Regions from separate parts of the Homo sapiens genome. Here all the other regions are linked to region 2. Evidence: promoter capture Hi-C in human tissues and cell types (Jung and others, 2019). All regions are on one chromosome and are shown on one strand. The core of a region is centred on a gene start or on the middle of the fragment in contact, and the rest is flanking DNA. Distances in the headings are between cores, read along the strand shown. Region 1 overlaps UBR2 (ubiquitin protein ligase E3 component n-recognin 2). Region 2 holds the start of PPP2R5D (protein phosphatase 2 regulatory subunit B'delta). Region 3 has its middle 5.8 kb from the start of ZNF318. Region 4 holds the start of DLK2 (delta like non-canonical Notch ligand 2).

Region 1 (5,558 bases), core at 1,410-3,909, 370 kb before region 2:
CCGAGATTGCTCCACTGCACTCCAGCCTGGGTGACAGAGCGAGACTCCACCTCAAAAAAAGAAAAAAAAAAAAAAAAGATTCAGATTACTCATAAACTAGCTGAACCTTCGTATTTTTTTGTATGAATCCTAAGATTTCCTCTAGAAAATTAGGATCTGAATCAAGTAAGGCAAGGAGAATGGTGTTTTTCTTACATCCATGAAAAAGTCTCCTATGATGATGATAGTGTGGTTATATTAAGTAAAAATAATAACTTTGTTCTGCCAATAGAATAGCTTTTTAAGTTAATTTTTAAATCTTGCCATTTCTTTTTAAGAGAAATACCAGTAGACAGACAAAGCCACTCAAAGTTCAAGTTATGCATTCGTCTATTGTCGCACATCAGAATTTTGGTTTGAAACTTTTGTCTTGGCTGGGAAGTATTATTGGATATTCAGGTAGGTTCATAAAAGTTCATGCCAATTGTCTATTAAAAATGAGCTCAATATGCTGTTGCAAAACTGTTTTGGGAAAACTATCAACTGGAATAATTTCCTGCTTTAATTTTACATTTTAAAATACCATTTCAAAATATCTTTATGCATAGAAGAAAACCTATGTTTAACAAATTTGGTCATACTGGATATTTTTTATATGCACACAAAGGATTCTCTATTCAAATAAATTCAGGAAACATTGGTTTAAACAATTGTAAAGGACATTAATATGCTAATGCAATGCAATGTACATTTCACAAACAATTTTTTTTTAAACTTTTTTTAGTGGAGCATTTTGCAGAACTCTTCTACTGAGTAAGCTGGAAAAATGCTGCTGTAAATAAAAACCTAAGTGATTAGCTGTTTAAACGATAAAACACTAATGTTGATTTATGTGATTTGACTCCAACAACTTTGGTTACCAATAATTTGCAACACTGAAAATTTGTAAATTGGAAGTTACCAATTTGCGTTTTTAAAAAATTTTTGGCCAGGTGCCATGGCTCATGCCTGTAATCCTAGCACTTTGGGAGGCCAAGGTGGGTGGATAACCTGAGGTCAGGAGTTCAAGACCAGCCTGACCAACATGGCAAAACCTCATCTCTACTAAAAATACAAAAATTAGCCAGGCGTGGTGGCATGTTCCTGTAATCCCAGCTACTCAGGAGGCTGAGGCAGGAGAATCACTTGAACCCAGGAAGCAGAGGTTGCAGTGAGCCAACATCACGCCACTTTGCTCCAGCCTGGGCAAAAGAGTGAAACTCTGTTTCAAAAAAAAAAAAATTCCAGAGTCTAGAAATTCGGTCATTTTTCTCTTTATGTAATGGTAAGAATTAAGAATCCTCACATCTGCAACCAAAAATACAAGCCTGGTGTGTAACACTAAAGGGTAAAACAGGGATAGATATAAGCTGTTATGCTATTCTTCAGGCAACACTGTGGATAAGTGACATTCAGATGTTTACTGTAAAGAAAAATTTGAATACATTTGTATTGAAGGGCTTTTAGAAAAGAGCATTACTACACAGAACTGAGAGTTGAAAATATGAAGGTGTGGAAGATTAAGAGAACGCGTTTACTTTAAAAGATAATTTAAAAGTTATCTTTCCAGGCTGACACGGTGGCCCACTCCTCTAGTCATAACACTCTGGGAGGCTGTGGTGGGACGATCCCTCGAGCCCAGGAGTTCATAGACCAGCCTGGGTAATATAGGGAGACCCCATCTCTATCTAAAATTTTTTTTAAAAGAAAATAAATATCTTTACAGTTATTTTTCTTAGTCCTATGTTCTTTATTTTGGTGTTTTCCATTGGATACCTGCATGCCAAGTGTTGTGCTACAGTATTACTGAAGAGTATAATGGAAGTAATGTCCTGCTGAAAATTTTCTTTGAGATATTAATCATTAATAATTTATATATTGCTATTTAATACTTACATAGGTCTTTAGCCTTTTAAAGGATTTCTGTTTGACAGCTTTTATAATTGAAAGTTATTCCATTTTTTTTTTAATTTTGCATGCTTGAAAAAGATGAAAACAGTGATTTAAATTATGAAGTATGGGGCCAGGTGCAGTGGCTCATGCTGGTAATCCCAGCACTTTGAGAGGCTAAGGCAAGTGGGTCACTTGAGCCCAAGAGTTCAAGACCAGCCTGGCCAACATGGTGTGAAACCCCGTCTGTACTAAAAATACAAAAATTAGCCAGGCGTGGTGGTGCATGCCTGTAATCCCAGGTACTTGGGAGGCTGAGGCACAGGAATTGCGTGAACCCAGGAGGCAGAGGTTGCAGTGAGCCAAGATCACATCACCGCACTGCAGCCTGGGTGACAGAGTAAGACTCTGTCTCCAAAAAAAAAAAAAAAAAAAAAAAAAAAACTATATATATATACACACACACACACACACACACACACACGCGCGCACATATATATACACACACACGTACATATATATGTATGCATGTACATATATGTGCGTATATGGGTATGTATATATGTGTATATGTGTATGTGTGTATGTATGTGTGTATATATGTGTGTATGTGTGTATATATGTATGTACGTACATACATACGTATGTATGTACGTACGTACATATATATGTATGTACGTACATATATATGTATGGAACAAATAAGTGTTAAAGCTTTGGTTATTTTAATGCTTATATTAATATTTGAAGAACGTTTCTGAAGTTTACATTTAAAAGGTTGTAGTAATATGTTTTCCAGGGTCTCACATGCCAAGTCCACAATAAGTTTTTGTTTAATGAATGAAGAATTTTTTCTGTAGCATTAATAAAATGCATTGCTATATATTATAATGCAGAAGTCATGCATTCCTCCTTTTAAATGGTAGCACATTTTATATTTCAATTATGGAATGTATAACACTTTCACTGTAATCTGGTTTAATTAGCATAAGTGCTTGAAGAACAATATTAAGTGGTTTTTTGGATGTTTTTCTCTTTAATTAAATTCATTAAAGCACAAGAGGTTATTGCCTTTATGATAGGCATATATTTTGACTTTCAGGAGTAATGGTGTGTGATGTGAGATTTGAAATTTATTTCCTTTTTGTTAAAATATTAATAAAACAGTTAATATGTTTGCCTTTTCTGAATAAATTTGAACTTTAAGAAAACATTTAAAACTCTACAGATCCATTTGAACATCTACTAAAATGTCACTATTTTAATATTTGAAGTTGCTATCTCATTCTACCTTTCCTTCTATTTAAAGATGGCCTTCGCCGGATTTTATGTCAAGTTGGTTTACAAGAAGGGCCAGATGGTGAAAACTCTTCTCTAGTGGACAGACTGATGCTTAGTGATTCCAAATTATGGAAAGGTGAATCTCTTAACTACTTTTAAGGTGTAGAGGAACCTATATAAGTAATTGGGATGTGAAAGGTTTTTATCATTTGGGAAGATATTTAATACATATATTTGTGCTTCTTAAAATTAGCATTGCAGTCTTAGTCTTTGAAAAATATAGATTTGGTGGGGTGGGGTCCATGATCCAACTTAAATGGACTTTATATTTTGTTACAGAATTATGTTTAGAAAACTTGGTTTTATAAACAAATTGCAAATATTTTGTGCTAAGGAAAATATGTATTTTGCTCCTTTTTTGAAGGGACAGGATCTCACTCTGTTGCCCAGGCAACAGGAGTGCAGTGGCATGATCATTGATCACTGCAGCCTCCAACTCTTGGACTCAAGCAATCCTCCCTTCTCAGCCTCCCTAGTAGCTGGGACTACATGTACATACCACCATGTATGGCTTTCTTTGTTTTTGAGACTTAAAATACAAGCCAGTCTCAGTGGTGTGTGCCTGTAGTCTCAGCTACACAGGAGGCTGAGGCAAGAGGATCACTTGAGCTAGGAGTTTGAGTTCAGCCTGGGCAACAAAGCAAGACCCTAAAAAAAAAAAAAAATGCTGTGTTGGCTGGGCATGGTGGTTCACATTTGTAATGCCAGCACTGTGGGAGGCCAAGGCAGGAGGATCGCGTGAGCCCAGGAGTTAAGACCAGCCTGGGCAACACAGCAAGACACTGTCTCAAAAGTAAAAACAAAACAAAACAAAAAAAACCCACTGTGGATCACATAACACTTGAGAAATGTAATTGTTGGGCGTGTCCTTATCTTATACCGTGATCTTTTTCTACAAGGTGCTAGGAGTGTATATCATCAGTTGTTCATGAGCAGTCTGCTTATGGATTTGAAATACAAGAAACTATTTGCTGTTCGATTTGCAAAAGTAAGTGGCTTTTCAATTTTGAAAATAGGTTATATATAGAGTAACTATGCCCATAATTATATCTAGGCTTCAAAAAATTAACATCTAATAGTAATATGTCAATGTGTTGATATTAAATTCTAAGAAACTTCATAAATAATCTTTTCATTCTTTATCAATAGAATAAAATTTTAGCCGTGAGACTCCTTGTTCATCACCTCCTATAACATGAGTATCTATTATACAATGTTTATGAAATAATAAATGAAGAGTTTAAACCTATGCCATTGTGAATTATGGTATTTTTTTCTATTAAAATTCATATAAGGAAACTAATCTCAGTTTAAATGACATATATATGAATATGATTTAATAAATATATTTGTGCATTTTAAAATTAGCATTGCAGTCTTAGTCTTTAAAAAAAAATAGATTTTTTTTTGGAGGGGGGGCATGATCCAAATTAAATAGCCTGTATATTTTGTTAGAAAATTATATTTAGAAAACTTTGATTTTATAAATAGATTGCAAATATTTCATGCTAAGGAAAACATGTATTTTGCTTTTTTTTTTTTTAAGAAACAAGGTCTCTTCAGAACTCTAGGTTATTAATATAGTTAAGTTCTCCCTTTTAGCAGCATGTGCATAAGCTAACCACTTATTTTTTTGCATTCACCTGAATTACGAAGTATATGAGAATCACTTGGAGAGCTCTTTCAAAATACATGTGTTGTGTTCCATTCTCAAATCTACTGAAACAGATTCACCAAGAATGGCGGCCCAAGCATGTATGCTTTGGAAGAGTCATCAGATGATTCTGATATGATGCAGAAGTAATGAAAGTCTGATTTCATCAGAAACAGTGTAATGCTGCTGTGGTTTAGCTCCACCAGCATACAATGACATCTTGGGAGCTTAGTAGCTGTTACTGCCTATTTGGGCTGGTAAACTGCCATTGTGCTCCAGAAGAAAGAATCGATATTTATACAGGATTCCACAGTTTCCATAGTGAATCAATATCTATACAGGATTCTATTGGTAGAAATCATTCCAGTTATTGTTCTCATAGCAGTGTTATCTTCTTGACTTCCTCCAGCACTGACTTTTCATTATAATCCTTAAACATTTGGTCATTGTGGATTAGAGGTGAATCTCCCCCTTGTTGTTTAGAATTACCAGCAGTTGCAGAGAGATTTTATGGAGGATGATCACGAGCGAGCAGTGTCGGTGACTGCTCTATCTGTCCAGTTCTTCACCGCACCTACTCTGGTGAGTAGTGCTTGCCTTTTCTTTGTAACTGATAGCTGGCACTCCTTGCCTTTTTTTGCCTTCTTAATAGAAC
Region 2 (5,142 bases), core at 1,325-3,824:
CTGATCACTTCCAGAAATCATCCTCAACTCTTCCCTTTCCGTTACCGTCCCCCCCACAATACAATGAATCACCATATCCTGTTGATTCTACACATTTTCATGCTCCATCCTCTCTTCTCCATCCCCACGGCCACTGTCTTGTAACATTGCTCTCCTGGGTACCTGGGTAAGGGACACAGGTTTTGTGTTTTTTTTTTTTTTTTTCAGATGGAGTCTTGCCCTGTCGCCCAGGCTGGAATGCAATGGTGCGATCTCGGCTCACTGCAAACTCCACCTCCCGGGTTCAATGGATTATCCTGCCTCAGCCTCCTGAGTAGCTGGGATTACAGGCACCCACCGTCATGCCTGGCTAATTTTTGTATTTTTGTAGAGACGGGGTTTTGCCATGTTGGCCAGGCTGGTCCTGAACTCCTGACCTCAGGTGATCCGCCCTCCTCAGTCTCCCAAAGTGCTGGGATTACAGGCGTGAGCCACTGCGCCTGACCTTTTTTTTTTTTAAGACTAAATATTTTATTTTATATAGAATTTTAAAAATTTATTTTTTGTACATGAATAAGTTCTTTAGTGGTGATTTATGAGATTTTGATGCAGCCATCACCCAAGCAGTGTATACTGTACCCAATGTGTAGTATTTTTTTTTTTTTTTGAGACGGAGTCTTGCTCTGTCGCCCAGGCTGGAGTGCAGTGGCATGATCTAGGCTCACTGCAACCTCTGCCTCCCGGGTTCACGCCATTCTCCTGCCTCAGCCTCCCGGGTAGCTGGGACTACAGGCGCCTGCCACCACGCCCGGCTATTTTTTTGTATTATTTTAGTAGAGACGGGGTTTCATCGTGTTATCCAGGATGGTCTCGATCTCCTGACCTCGTGATCCGCCCGCCTCGGCCTCCTAAAGTGCTGGGATTACGGGCGTGAGCCACCGCGCCCGGCCTCCATTGTATCATTCTCATGCCTTTGCATCACAGGTTTCTTCTTTTTTTTTTGTAGACGGAGTCTTGCTCTGTCGCCCAGGCTGGAGCGCAGTGGCATGATCTCGGCTCACTGCAACCTCCACCTACCGGGGTCAAGTAATTCTCCTGCCTCAGCCTCCTACCGGGTTCAAGTGATTCTCCTGCTTCAGTCTCCCGAGTAGCTGGGACTACAGGCGCGCGCCACCACGCCCCGCTAATTTTTGTATTTTTCATAGAGGCATGGTTTCACCATGTTGGCCGGGATGGCCTCGATCTCTTGACTCGTGATCCGCCCACCTCGGCCTCCCAAAGTGCTGGGATTACAGGCGTGAGCCACCGCACCCTGTCTAATTTTTGTATTTTTAGTAGAAATGGGGTTTCACCACTATGGTCAGGCTGGTCTCAAACTCCTGACCTCGTGATCTGCCCACTTTGGTCTCCCAAAGTGTTGGGACTACAGGCGTGAGCCACCGAGCCTGGCCACAGGTTTATTCTTTTTGTCGTCATTGTTGCTGTTTTGAGACAGAGTCTTGCTCTGTCGCCCAGGCTGGAGTGCAGTGGTGTGATCTCGGCTCACTGCAACCTCCGTCTCCCGGGTTCAAGTGATTCTCCTGCCTCAGCCTCCCGAGTAGCTGGGATTACAGGCGTGCACCACCACACCCAGCTAATTTTTGTATTTTTAATAGAGACGGGGTTTCGCCATGTTGGCCAGGCTGGTCTCGAACCTCTGACCTCAGGTGATCCTCCTGCCTCAGCCTCCCAAAGTGTTGGGATTACAGGCGTGAGACACCGTGCCTGCCTGGTTTACATTCTCTCTTAATCCTTTGTTTATACACATCTGTGATTCACCAGACTGCGAACTCTTTGTGGGCATAAACTGAGTCTTACCCATTAGAACACGGACTTGAGCAGGGTGGCAAGTAAGGGATGGATTTCCTGAGACAGTCAACAATGAAGTTGCTTTTCCACTGCGTTCCCAACTGCTCAAATCTAGCTGGTTCCCCAATCCCAGTACACTTGCAGTAGCAACGGGGACCCTCTTCCTAAAGTTGCACCAAGCCAGGGATTCTCCACTCATTTCGCCCAGGTCCTAGCCCTGCCAGGCTTCCCCTTTGCTCCTCTGCAACCCCTGTCTAGGGAGGCGGGTGTCTTGGAAGGTCCTTGGGAGCTCCCTCCATCAATTTTGCATCTGCAATTAGGGCTACTTTACCCCAGTGAAGAAAGGTGCCCTCCGTATTAGGGCTTCCTTCCTCCAATTCCGACTGGACAGGGTAGCAGAGCGGGCAAAGTGTGAGAGCCTTTAGAAGGAAAGAGCAGGGCTCCAAGCGCCGCGAAGAATGGCCGAGGCCGACGCACAGCAGACGCTGGAGTGCAGCCCTCCTAGCCAAGCTTGGGTTTCCCCTTATCCCCGCCTCCTTCTCTAAGCTCGACCCACTTTAGGGCGGGACCACCCACTTCAGCCAATTCTGGAAGCCGAACCCTGGCGGTTTGTACTATTTCTTTCCAATAAGAAAAAAAGGAAGCAGCTTGGCTCCAATGACCAATCCGAGGAGGCGGCGCCTGGTTGTCAGGCAGTTTTGTAGGAGTTCGGGCCAATTGGAGGCGCAGGCACCGCTCGACCCGGGCGCAGCGCGCAGGCGGTGGCGAAGAGACGCCGAGCGGGCCGAGTGCGGCCGAGCAAAGCCGGAGCCGGAGCGGGGCCGCAGGAGACGGGCCGGGTCCGGACGGGCCGAGATGCCCTATAAACTGAAAAAGGAGAAGGTGAGCGTGGCCCTTTTTCCCCCACCGCCGCCTTGGAGCCTGCGCGGAGCTCTGGGAGGGGCCGGAGCCAGGCCCGGGACAGCCCCAGACTGACCCTCCCGTCCAGCCCCCGCAGGACTCCTGGGGCCAGCCCTCCGCCCCCGCGGCTGGCAGCACCCCCAGCTTGTGCCGCAGCTAGGACAGCTCCCCCACCTTGCCCCGGAGAGACTCCCCCCACATACACCTCCCTCCCTTCTTCCCTTCTCTTACCCCCGGCCCAGGGTAACCTCCTTCTTCCAGATCTGCCCCATTCCCAGGTCACTGTCCTGCTTTTTCTGTCCCCCCCATCACCCCTGGCCCCGATCCCCCTTCGGTTTGGGCAGCCCCTCATCTGAAACTGCACCTTCCTCCAGAATTGCCCCCTCGCCCCGCCCTGAGCAGCCCCTTGTCTCCTCTTCCTACCCGCCTGGGACAGCCGCCCCGCAGTCCCCTACGGCCCCTTCTCTTTCCATGCCAAGCCCCTGACCTAGAACAGCGCTGCTTTCTCTCTCCTCCACCCAAATCTGGCCTAGGCCCCTCCCTCTAGTTCTTCCTTCACACACAAACTTGTAAGCAGGACTGAGCCCTTCTGTTGATGGAACCTCACAACGTTGGTGCTGGAAGGGACCTCTGAGCGCATGCAGTGCAATCCCTAATGGTACAGATGAGGAGACTGAGGCCCCGACAGGGCAAGGGACTTGTCCAAGGTCACACAGCCTGCTGGAGGCCCAGCTGCAATATCAGGTCTCCTGACTTAAAGGCCTCTTTTGTATCAAAGCCCTCCTAACTGTCACCCAAGTGCATCCTAGACCAGTCACCTTTCCTAATCTGAGTAGGCTCCTCACCCTTATTCTTAATCCTAGGATAACCTTTGCATTTTTCCTTTTTTTTTTTCTTTTCGCACCAGTGCTGGATTTCTGCCTTTCCTAAGCTACACCATCTTCAAATTGGGAATTTGTCCTCACTGTCAGATTATTGTTCCTTCTTAGCCTGCAGGCCAGCCACCCCTGAACACCCATGTCTTTATCATGATGTCCTGACACAGGCCATTTCTTTTTTTTTTTTTTTTTTTGAGATGGAATTTTGCTCTTGTTGCCCAGGCTGGAGTGCAATGGCGCGATCTCGGCTCACCACAACCTCTGCCTTCTAGCTTCAAGCGATTCTCCTGCCTCAGCCTCCCAAGTAGCTGGAATTACAGGCATGCGCCACCACATCCGGCTAATTTTGTATTTTTAGTAGAGACGGGGTTTCTCCATGTTGATCAGGCTGGTCTTGAACTCCTGACCTCAGGTGATCTGACCCCCTCGGCCTCCCAAAGTGCTGGGATTACAGGTGTGAGCCACCGTGCCTGGCCCACAGGCCAGTTCTTAATGTTGCCTTCTTTCACCTTCCTCATCTACCTCGGTGCTGCCTTCCCCTGCTCCTCATCCGTGCCTTTTTCTACCCTCTGTTTCCTGCTGTTGCTGAGGTCTGACTCAGAGGTGTGGTTCCTTTGAGGTACAGACTCACACATAGGATGCTAGGATACCAGTTCCAGCCTCCCCCAGCTTCTCCTCTCCTGGGGCTGGCCCTTTTTGGTGGGGGTTGGCTCTGGCCTGGTGTTCTGGCCACCTGCTCGATGACCCCAGAGGTATATTGCTTTCATTTGCCCTCTGATTGGCTGGGTTACTGGGCTGCCATCTCTGACCTTTTCAATCAAACTTTTTCTCCTGGGGCTGTTCTGTATTTGCCAGGCAGCTCTGATTCTGAGTTGTCCCCTTAACCTTTCAGGGCCTGAGGTTCTAAGTACAGGGTTGGTGATGGTGTACTAGATAGTGAGCCTCCTGGGAGTAGTGAGCTGGACAGGGTTTTGTGCCCCACCCAGGCCCTGTCCTTGGGGAGTGGGCATGCGGAGGTGGTTTGGGTAGCTCAGTCGTAGACAATGCACACAGAAATCAGCCACAACAGGGGCTAAGGGAAATGGAATTCGGGGAAAGCTGGTGAGGTCCCCACCCATTTGTAATTTTTAGTCTGTTGGACTAGATACTGTCCCATCCACAGAAAGCAATAGCCTACTAGATTGTGAAGAAGACAAATTGCCAGTGAGATTTGCTAGGACCATGGGTGTAAACGTTTGGTTGGGAAAGGGTGTTGGAAGTAACGGGGTGCATGGAGCCAGGCATAACTCTCACCTCCCTATAAGGTTTTTCTGCTCTTGATTTTCAGTTGCATTTGGCCTTCTTCAATGGTTGGCAGGCTCTAAGGGGCAGGGGGGTTGCCAGTGTGACTGAGGTTTGTCTGGATGGCTGTGGGTGGAGGATCTTTATTGCTCATCTATGACCTGTCCCCTCTCTCCTGGCCATCTTTCACAGCTTCCTCTCTAAAGCCTTTCTGAGCCCTCAGTCAGGAGTGAACTCTCCTTTCTTTTCTGGATTT
Region 3 (5,047 bases), core at 1,245-3,744, 390 kb after region 2:
GAGACTTCTGATGAAGATGGTGAAATGTGTAAAGGCTTTCACACATACACACATACCACCCCATAGTAGACATACCGCAATGACATATAAAACCTTAAAAGAGAAAAGTAAGGAGACTAGGATGTATGCTATGGACTGAATTGTGTTTCCCCCACCACTACTCCAAATTCATTTGTTAAAGCCCTAACCCCCAATGTGATGCTATTTGGAGAAGAGTCCTTTGGGAGGTAATTAGGGTCAGATGAGGTCATGAGGGTAGGGCCCCCATGATGATAGTGTCTTTATAAAGAGAGGAAGAGACACCCATGCCCTCTCTCTGCTATGCAAGCACACAGTGAGAAGGCAGTGTCTACAAACCAGGAAGAGAGCACTCACCAGGAACTAAATTGGCTAGCACCTTGGTCTTGGACATTCCAGCCTCTAGAACTGTAAGAAATAAGCACGTGTTGTTGAAGCCACCCAGCCTTACGGTATTTTGTTACAGCAGCTCAAAACAGCTAATACACTCTGAAACGAGATAACCACCTCCCCATGGACCTCATGGGCTTTGAAATGAGTCTAGAATCAAGGGTAGCAGTTAGAGATTTGGCTCCTGTGAGATAATGGAAATGTAAGTGCTCCTCAGGAGGTGGAGGACCTGGGACAGATTTTTAGCTTAAAGCCAAGGACATGCCTGTCCCTACATGCGAGCTGAACAAATTACTGCCAGCCTTCTGCTTGGGGCTAAGTTTCATGGGAATGTGCCATGTGGGTGGGAAGATAAAAATATTGACAGCCTTTAAACAAGAACTGAGCCTAGACACTCCCTGCTCAGTGACTGGAATGGTAATATCCTAATATTACCAATATTACCTATACACCAGTAATAACTAATTAGAAAATACGATTCTGAGGCCAGCTGTGGTGGCTCATGCCTGTTAATGCCAGCACTCTGGGAGGCTGAGGCAGGCAGATCACCTGAGGTCGGGAGTTCGAGACCAGCCTGGTCAACATGGCGAAACCCCATCTCTACTAAAAATAAAAAAATTAGCCAGGCATGGTGGCGGGTGCCTGTAATCCCAGCTACTCAGGAGGCTAAGGCAGGAGAATAGCTTGAACCCGGGAGGCAGAGTTTTCAGTGAGCCGAGATCACACCACTACACTCCAGCCTGGGTGACAAAGGAGACTCTATCTCAAAAAAAAAAGGAAAGAAAGAAAATATGAGTCTGGCCAGGCGCAGTGGTTCACACCTGTAATCCCAACACTGTGGGAGGCCGAGGCAGGCGGATCACTTGAGGTCAGGAGTTCAAGACTAGCCTGGCCAACATAGTGAAACTCTGTCTCTACTAAAAATACAAAAATTAGCTGGGCATGGTAGTCTGGCTACCTTAGCACGCTTGTAGTCCCAGCTACTCAGGAGGCTGAGGCAGGAGAATCGCTTGAATCTGGGAGGCGGAGGTTGCAGTGAGTCGAGATCTTGCCACTGCATTCCAGCCTGGGTGACACAGTGAGACTCCACCTCAAAAAAAGAAAAGAAAATATGATTTTTCTGCTGGACACAGTGGCAGGTACCTATAATCCCAGCTACTCAGGAGACTAAGGCAGGAGTTTTCACCTGAGCCCAGGAGCCCGAGGTTAGCCTGGACAACAAAGCAAGACCCTGTCTCTGGAAAAGGAAGAAGAGAGAAAATATGATTTTCTGTTAAACATGGTGGATTCAATCATGCATGTATCACTATTACATCCATAACCTCTGTCTCAAAAAACAAAAAAAAAAAAGCTCTGGCCAGGCGCAGTGGCTCACGTCTGTAATCCCAGCACTATGAGAGGCTGAGACAGGTGGATCACTTGAGGTCAGGAGTTCGAGACCAGCCTGACCAACATGGTGAAACCCCATCTCTACTAAAAAATACCAAAAAATTGGCCAGGGGTGGTGGTGGGTGCCTGTAATCCCAGCTACTTAGGAGGCTAAGGCAGGAGAATCACTTGAACCCGGGAGGTGGAGATTGCAGTGAGCCGAGATCGTGCCACTGCACTCCAGCCTCAGTGACAGAACAAGATTCCATCTCAAAAAAAAAAAAAAAAAAAAGTGCTCAAAAGAGGATATTCAAATGATTACTAAATATATGAAACCTCAATCGTGAAAATGTAAATTAAAACCATAACAAAATAGCACTTCACACCAACATAGTTAACATTGCAGATATTGGTGAGGGTGTAGAACAAGGGACATTCTTCTACACTGTGTAAATCAGTGCCACCACTCTGGAAAACAGGTTGGCATTTCTACTAAAGTTGAAAATGACTACACAATTTTGTTCCTAAGTATATATCCTACAGAAATGCATACAAGGTATACCAGCAGTTACGTACAAGAACGTTCACAGCAGCTTTCTCTGTAATTGCCAAATACTAAAAAAAGTCCACATATTCTACAACAGTAAAATGAATAAATTTGGGGATGTTTATACAATGGCATACTATTCAGCATTGAAAATTAACAGACTGCTTCACTCAACAACATAAATGAATCTGAAAAACATAATGTTGAGTTAAAGAAAATAGATGCAAAACAATACATTGCATAATTCCATTTATATAGCTTTTTTGTTTTGTTTTGGTTTTGTTTTGAGACAGGGTCTCTCTCTGTCACCCAGTCTAGAGTGATGTGTCCCAATCATGGTTCACTGCAGTCCCAAACTCTTTGACTCAAGGGATCCTCCTGCCTCAACCTCCAAGTAGGTAGGACTACAGGCATGTGTTATCGTACTCGGATAATTTTTTTTCTTTTTTCTTTTTTTTTTTCAAGACAGGGTTAACTATGTTGCCTAGACTGGTGTTGAACTCCTGGCCTCAAGCAGTCCTCCTGCCTCAGCCTCCCAAAGTGCTGGGATTACCACCATACCCGGCTAAATTGTCAAAACTAAACTACAGTGGATAGGAGTGCATTCTTAGTGGTAAACCACTATAAAGAAAATGAAGCTAAAAACCATAAAAATCAGCATGGTGGTCACCCTGAGGATGGAAGAGAGGGCATTGTAATTAGACAGAACAATGGGAGGAGCTTCTGGGGTATTGAGCTCGTTCCATATATTAATCTGGGTGGTTGTTTTTCCACAGATACTAGCTTTTTAATAATTCAGTTAGCTGTACATTTATTTATTTATTTATTTATTTATTTATTTATTTATTTAGAGATGGAGTCTTGCTCTGTAGCTCAGGCTGGAGTGCAATGGTACGATCTCGGCTCACTGCAGCCTCTGCCTCCTGGGTTCAAGTGCTTCTCCTGCCTCACCCTCCTGAGTAGCTGGGATTACAGGCATGTGCCACCACACCTGGCTAATTTTTGTAGTTTTAGTAGAGACAGGGTTTCACCATGTTGGCCAGGCTGGTCTTGAACTCCTGACCTCAGGTCATCCGCCCACCTCGGCCTCCCAAAGTGCTAGGATTGCAGGCGTGAGCCACCACACCCATTCTGTACATTTATTTTTATATACTTTTATGTATACATGTAATTTTTCACAATTAAAAGAGCTAGAGACAGAAGACAAACCTGTATCCTAAGAAATGTGAAGCTTGAATAGCACTATCTGTGTGCTAACAAGCAATTTGTTTCTCAGATATGCTAGTCAGCCACCAAAATGGCCCCTAATGATCCCTGTCTCTTGGTATTCACTCCCTGGTATGGGCTCCTCCCATATTGTACAAAGGTTGGTCTGTGTGACCAATAGAATATGACAGAGGTGATATGTATCATGTCCAAGATTAGGTTATTAAAGCCATTGTGGCTTCCATTTTGAGCACACTTTCTCTCTCTGGGATCATATGATTTTGGGGGAAAACACCTGCCATGTTGAGCAACCCTATGGAAAACCCCATGTAGTGAGAAACTGAGGTCTCCTGACAACAGAAGCAAGGAATTGAGGCCTCCAGGCAACAGCCATGTGGGTGAGTCATCTCACAAGCAGATACTCAAGTATATCAAGCCTTCAGATGACTGCGGCCCAAGCCAATATCTTGAGTGCATCTTCTTGAGAGACCCTGAGCCAGGACCATCTAGCAAATCACTTCCATAGTCCTCATCCTCAGAAACTGTGAGATAAAAGTGCTTGTTTTAGGCTGCCAACCTGGGAGTAATTTGCTATGCAGATAGCTAATACACAACCCTAGAGAATAAAAATTGCTTTTGGTATAGCCCCTACCTTTATTCTATGAGGCACTAATAACCCTTTTTAACCTTGAATTTGGAGAAACCCTGAATGCAGGCAGTTAATTCATATGTGGATGTTTCACATCCAAATGCTTTTTGTCTGGTCCCCCAGATCACCATGGTTTCTATTTTATAACTAGTACATACTATATACTAATATATAGTATTATATTACTATAATAATATGGTATTATAATCATAATACCGTAATCACACAAAACACGAATGTACATCTTACCAGCTTATTAAAAAACAAATAAATACTGGCCAGGCACAATGGCTCATGCCTTTAATCCCAACACTTTGGGAGGCCGAAGTAGGGGGATCGCTTCAGCTCAGGAGTTCGAGACCAGCCTGGGCAATATAACAAAACTCCATCTGTACTAAACAACAACAACAACAAAATAGCCAGGTGTGGTGGTGCATGCCTGTAGTCATAGCTACTTGGGAGGCTGAGGCAGGAGGATCACTTGAGCCCAGGAGTTCAAGGCTGCAGCAAGCTATGATAGCACCACTACACTACAGCCTGGGCAAGAGTGAGACCCTGTCTCAAAAAAAAAAATAACAAAATAAAAATAAATAAAATGAAATAAAAATAAATCTAACAGCAATATTATGGAAATGTTCAAGGTTTTGAAGGAAAGGTCCTGGGTGATCTGAGACATGTATTAAGATCTGCCATGGTCAGAGAGATTAGGCAGGACTTCCCTGAGAAGCGGTATTTGAGCTGAGATCTGAAAATAAGTAGGAGGTAGTAGAGCATAAAGCCTGGTAGGCAGAGGGACACCTAATCTAGTACTTCCTAACAGTTACCCTTTTCACTGTCCTTGTCCTCTGTTTACACCAGCCACTTACCCA
Region 4 (5,638 bases), core at 2,670-5,169, 470 kb after region 2:
CGTTCAGGAGAGGATGAGGAGAGACCCAGGCCCTTCAGTCTCCCCACACCCACCCTCCCCAACCAGAACAGTCACACGTTTGTTACCCCTCTAGCTCCTATAGATTGTTGAAGAAATGGCTCAGAAGGTACAAAAAAAAAAGTTGAGAAACCCTGAACTAGGAACACTTTGGCATGCAGGGGTTTTATCTGAGTGTCCCCGTGTGGGTCTGACTCTCAGTCCCCCACCCTCCCAACAGTCCTGCCTCTTTTCTCATCCCATCACCAGGTTCTGGTCTAACCTTCCACTCACCCTGAGGGCCCAGCACTCACCCTGCCTGTTCACAGGGTCCAGCCTTGCGCTCGCAGTCACGCCCATGGAAGCCTGGTAAGCACACACAATGGTACTCACCGCCCCCGTCATACATGCACTGGCCTCCATTCTGGCAGGGGGACTGCGTGGTACAGATATGTTCATCTGGAGAGGGGACAGGAAAGGCTCTGGGATAACCCCTCCCATCTGGTCCCCAGACCAGACTTGTCCACGCCTTCCAGGCCCCAGGTTCTGTAGGTGTGGCTATACTACAAACCCAGCCCAGGCTGGCGTGGTATGCTAGGGAGAGACAACAACACTGAATTTGGAGTCAGGAGGCTCCTGGCCCTGGCTCTCAGTCTGTCTCAAACTGACCTTGGGCTGGGTACTGTGGCTCATGCCTGTAATCCCAGCACTTTGGAAGACCAAGGTGGGCAGATGACTTGAGGTCAGGAGTTCAAGACCAGCCTGGCCAACATGGCAAAACCCCATCTCTACTAAAAATACAAACATTAGGCCGGTACAGTGGCTCATGCCTATAATTCCAGCACTTTGGGAGGCCAAGGCGGGTGGATCACTTGAGGTCAGGAGTTCGAGACCAGCCTGGCCAACATGGTGAAACCCTATCTCTACTAAAAATACAAAAATTAGCTGAAGTGGCGGGTGCCTGTAATTCCAGCTACTGGGGAGGCTGAGGCACGAGAATCACTTGAACCCAGGAGGCGGAGGTTACAGTGAGCCGAGATCGCACCACTGCACTCCAGCCTGGGTGACAGAGTGAGACTCCATCTCAAAACAAAACAAACAAAAAAACCTGACTTTGAGCAGGTTATAGCTCTTCTGTGGGCCTTAGTTTCCTCATCTGTAAAATGAGTACAATTTTTAGCAGCTGTGTTTCCTGCCCCATGGGGTTATGTTGAGGATCAATTCAGACAACATATAAAAAGTCTAAGATTTAAAAAAATGATAAAATACCATGTATTTGAGGGTTTGACAAGGACAAAATAGGCACTCAATAAATACTGATGGCTGTTCCCCTAAGAACATGGGGTTCCCAACCAAAAGCTACCCTTCCTCCCCCCTACCTTTGTCACAGAACTTGCCTGCCCAGCCACTGTGGCAGATGCACTGCCATGGCTGGTGGCAGGTACCGTGCTGGCAGCCAGGCATCCTCACACAGCGCTCACAGTGCAGCCCCTCCCAGCCCGGGTCACACCTGACGGGGAGAAGCACAGGGTCAGGGCTCTGGGTCATGGATGTGAAGAAATGGAGGAGACAGAACCAGAGCTTCTAGAAACCAAGAGGACATATGACAGCCCCTAAGGGAAAGCAGACCTGTCCCAGGTAGGTGTAGGACTGTGCAGGGTCATAGGACACATATACGGAATCAGACCATCAGACACCAGCACTCAAACCCTGGTTCTGTACTTTAACCTGAGCCTCAGTTTTCTCACCTGTAAATTGGGGATACACCTTGCAGGGTTGAGTAGAGGAAGAAATAAGATGTCTGTAAATGCCTCCAGTACCCCTCCTGGCATGTCTGAGGTGCTCACAAACATTTAAAGAAGAATGACCTTGAAAGGCCATCAGGGCCGGGGCGTGGTTGCTCACGCCTGTAATCCCAGCACTTTGGGAGGTCGAGGCAGGTGGATCACTTGAGGTCAGGAGTTCAAGACCAGCCTGGCCAACTGGGTGAAACCCCGTCTCTACAAAAAATACAAAAAATTACCCGGGCATGGTGGTGTGCATCTGTAATCCATTATTGAGGAGGCTGAGGCAGGGGAACTTGAACACAAGAGGCAGAGGCTGCAGTGAGCTGAGATCGCGCCACTGCACTCCAGCCTTGGCAACAAAGCGAGACTCTGTCTCAAAAACAAAAAATAAAAATAAAAACAAAAAAGGTCATCAGGACTATCCTCCCACCATGATTCCAGGGCAAACACTTGACCCATATTTTAAAAGCCCTCCAGGGGTGAAGAGTCTCAAAGACCCCCAGCCAATTGAACTACCTGCCTCATCAACTCATTTCCTTATGTCCACTTTCCTCCTGCTACAGAATTTGCCCAATCTCCCAGTGAGTCAACTACTCAAACTCATCAAGAAAGATCCTCTTTCATTGTAAGTGTTTCTCCCCAGCAACTCTCCCTGCAGCATTTCTTTTCCAGGCTAAACCATTTCTCTTTCCCTTTTTCCTTTATCTTTCCATTTCCTCATGGCACCCAATCCCCAAGCTCTCTCAAGCTTTAGGTCTCTCTCCCTGTCAGGAGTTCAGACAATCCCTGGATCAGACTTGGGAGATTAAAGAAGTGGGGAGATAAAAACTAGAAGAAGCAAGAGAGGTGAGGTAAAGGGGAAAGGGGGACTGGCCAGTCAGCCATAGGAGTGATGAGGCATGAAGAGTAGAGTCTGAAGCCCCTAGACACTGTTGTGCACGTGAAGGGCTTAGAAATGGGTACCAAAGGGTTTGGGGGCACGTGCTCAGGACAGGTACCTGCAGGAGCCGTCAGGTGCACAGCAGCCGTGGGCCAGGTCACAGTGGGAGCTGCAGTCATCGGCTGCAAGAGATTGATGTGGGAGGGGTGAGTCTGAGTCAGGGCACAGCTCGCTGGGATGCGGGACTCAGGAGAGGATTGGGGTTCCAGTAACTGAGCGGACTCAACCCTAGGGCAGGACATAACACAGAAACTCATCCCATTCCAAAAAGGCAACCTCGGTCTTGCTTGCCCCGCGGGTCGGAGCGACTGCAGTGCCGCCTCCGGCCGGCAGAGGTCAACGTGCAAGCGAGGACGGCTGGACAGGGCCGCGACTGGAGCCCAGCGGGCGCGCTCACCTCGGACAGGCTGACCGGGAGCCCCCAGAATGCACAACAGGCACACGAGATGCAGGCAGCGGCAGCCGCTGGGCATGGTCAGCGCCGGCCCCAGGAGGGACGGACGGATGGACGGCCGGACGCGTGGACACCTGTGGGACGGCACCGGTTGGGAGGCGGCCGGACGCGGAGATAGCGGCACGGATACGGGTTCCAAGTGACAGGAGCCGACGAGGGAGAGGGGCGCCGGGACAGAAGAAGGGGATGGGGGTAGCGGGAGGATGGGGGCAGGGAAGGGTTGAGCAGGCGAAGAGAGCGAGGAGAGCGAAGACAGGAACCCGGGAGCGGGGTCTGCAAGGAGGGGAAAGATGGGCATCGCGGAGCGAGGCCAGGCGCGGGAATGGCTGGGGTTGGGATCGTAGTCAGGACGGAGGGGTCCGCGGGATGGGGACAGCGCCGAGAGGCGGCCTCGAGCACGGAGGGGACGCGGGGGCCGGAGGGAAGGACGGTTCCCGGCAGCGAGCAGTCTCCGCCCCACAGCTCCGACAGCCCCCCCCCCCGCCACCACCACTCTCTCCCACGTCCCCTTTCTATCTCCGCCGCGCTGGGTTCGGCGGCGGCGCGGGGCCTGGAATCCCCACCGCGCCCTGTCCCCGCAGTCCTCACCTCCGGCGGGGAGGTGGCGCGCCCCGGGGCGCAGAGAGAGGCCGGATCCGACGGGCGCCGCCGAGGGGCCGTGAGGGAGCGCGGGGCCGCCCCTAGCTGGCCGCGGGGCCGGGCGCCGAAGCGGCTGCCATGCGAGCCGAGCGCTCGGGAATCTGGGGCTCCAGGCGACCCCGAGCGGCGGCAGCGGCTGCTCCTCGCGCGCGCTCAGGCCCCCTGCCAGGGGCGGAGCCCGCCCCCACCCCCATCCCCCCCCCCGCGACGCACGGCGCACACCTAGCACCCGGCGCGCCCCGGGGCCCCGGCCCTCCGCGGCTACCCAACGCCCCGAACCCAGCTTCCTTCCAAGAGAGGAGGAAATCTTAGGAGTCTCAATGGGAGCAAACTATTAAGCCAAAGGAGCGCAACCCCGTTATTCTCTCATCTCCCATGCCCACTTTCCCGACCAGCGCTCCGCGGCCCACGCCCCAGCCCTGCCTTCGCTTGTCCGCCGCTCATCACGCTTCTCATATAGATCTATGCACACGCAGGCAATCGCTCCCCGCCCTCCGCCTGTCACCAGCCCACGCCTCCCCGCTTGTAAAGCCTTCATCACCTGCTTCATCTGTGTGCTCCTCTGCTCCTCCTCGCCCTCCGCTTCTTCCTGTCCACGTTGCCGTCTCCAGCCTTCCAAGATCAACCTATCCCTATATAAATATCAACCCGATCCACCCAACCACACCCCGGCCCTACCCCCACCACCCTTCCCTCCCTCAAGTCTCAGCCCTTCCACCCCATTCCTTTTTGTGACTGCCTCTGAGAATCCTTTCTGGACTGGGAATGCCCCTGACTCTGTAAATGTGCACACAAAACCCCCTCCACCGCCAAGTCTTCTCCTGTACCCCATCACGTTCGTCCTTGGCCTCAGGCTAAACCTCAACTGCCCAAACCTGGAGCTCAGATTCAGAGAGTAACGGAGGGGGAGTGGGGGAAAGCTGCCCTCCAGGCCTCTTTGCCCCCTTCTGGCTAATGGCTCAGAGACACATTTCAAGACAAGGACCCAGCCAAGCTCGGTGGGCTCACGCCTATAATTCCAGCACTTTGGGAGGCTGAGGCGGGCGGATCACCTGAGGTCAGGAGTTCGAGACCAGCCTGGCCAACATGGTGAAACCCGTCTCTATTAAAAATACAGAAATTAGCCAGGCGTGGTGGTGCGCGCCTGTAATCCCAGCTACTCGGAAGGCTGAGGCAGGAAAATCGCTTGAAAACCCGGGAGGCAGACGTTGCAGTTAGCCAAGATCGCGCCACTGCACTCCAGCTTGGGGGACAGAGCAAAACTCCGACCCCCGCCCCCCCCCAAAAAAAGACAAGGACCCAGAACATAATTTCTAGTTTGTGCAGGACAACAGGGCAGAGGTCAGGAACGCTAGCGCCCATCTCTAGTCCTTCAGATTGAGATTTCACCATCTTTAAATTCAAAACATCGGAAGGAGCAGTCGCTAGTCGGGGCAGAGCAGCTTCCCACCTTCACACAGCCACCTCCACAGGCACAGAGCCCCAGGGCTCATTTTTCCTGCAGTCTCCATTGGATATAACACTTACACCCACTCAGCTCCCTAGCTGGCCTCCTCTCAGCTGTGATCGCCTCTTCCCTGAAGAGCTCTCTGAATTTGAGTAATGACATGGCTGTACCATTCATTTTGTTTAAACACATTTTTTTTTTTGGTGAAAAATTGCAAACAACCTATAATTCAAAAATTACTGTAGGCAAATAAATTATGGCACATCAACACTATGTGACTGTTAAAAATACTTTTTTTTTTTTTTGACGTCTAAAGATGTCCAAAAAAGCTAAGAATATGTAAAGTGCGGTGGGGGGAAGCCGGAAACAAAGAA

The links. The method cuts DNA at HindIII sites, captures the fragments that hold promoters and counts their contacts. A contact is called where the count stands out against the background at its distance.
Region 1: a fragment that was not itself captured here is called in contact with the fragment with the promoter of PPP2R5D in region 2 in 1 of the 25 tissues and cell types used here (stomach).
Region 3: a fragment that was not itself captured here is called in contact with the fragment with the promoter of PPP2R5D in region 2 in 1 of the 25 tissues and cell types used here (pancreas).
Region 4: the fragment with the promoter of DLK2 here is called in contact with the fragment with the promoter of PPP2R5D in region 2 in 1 of the 25 tissues and cell types used here (IMR-90 fibroblasts).

Annotation. Positions count from the first base shown.
Region 1 is chr6:42,611,854-42,617,411 of GRCh38, forward strand. UBR2 (ubiquitin protein ligase E3 component n-recognin 2) reads left to right here. Exons shown (of 47, transcript NM_001363705.2): 8 at 318-438; 9 at 3,218-3,325; 10 at 4,149-4,237; 11 at 5,556-5,558. Among named protein-coding and RNA genes, the nearest start is that of UBR2, 51 kb to the left of the region's middle. The HindIII fragment of the contact is 5,356 bases long and covers 1-5,337 here.
Region 2 is chr6:42,981,996-42,987,137 of GRCh38, forward strand. PPP2R5D (protein phosphatase 2 regulatory subunit B'delta) reads left to right here and starts at 2,575. Exons shown (of 16, transcript NM_006245.4): 1 at 2,575-2,709. The coding sequence starts at 2,683. It overlaps LOC124900215 (a long non-coding RNA gene), which reads right to left and starts at 2,319. Exons shown (of 2, transcript XR_007059580.1): 1 at 1,837-2,319. RefSeq lists an enhancer at 2,354-2,473 and silencers at 2,624-2,693, 2,784-2,933. The HindIII fragment of the contact is 19,136 bases long and covers 1,017-5,142 here.
Region 3 is chr6:43,372,960-43,378,006 of GRCh38, forward strand. No RefSeq gene overlaps it. Among named protein-coding and RNA genes, the nearest start is that of ZNF318, 5.8 kb to the left of the region's middle. RefSeq lists an enhancer at 3,722-3,941. The HindIII fragment of the contact is 7,073 bases long and covers 1-5,047 here.
Region 4 is chr6:43,451,629-43,457,266 of GRCh38, forward strand. It overlaps DLK2 (delta like non-canonical Notch ligand 2), which reads right to left and starts at 3,920. Exons shown (of 6, transcript NM_023932.4): 1 at 3,767-3,920; 2 at 3,122-3,252; 3 at 2,783-2,846; 4 at 1,377-1,507; 5 at 312-456. The coding sequence starts at 3,197. It also overlaps a transcript of ABCC10 not described here. RefSeq lists enhancers at 2,899-2,948, 4,577-5,418 and silencers at 3,479-3,558, 3,589-3,638, 3,739-3,978. The HindIII fragment of the contact is 12,339 bases long and covers 1-5,638 here.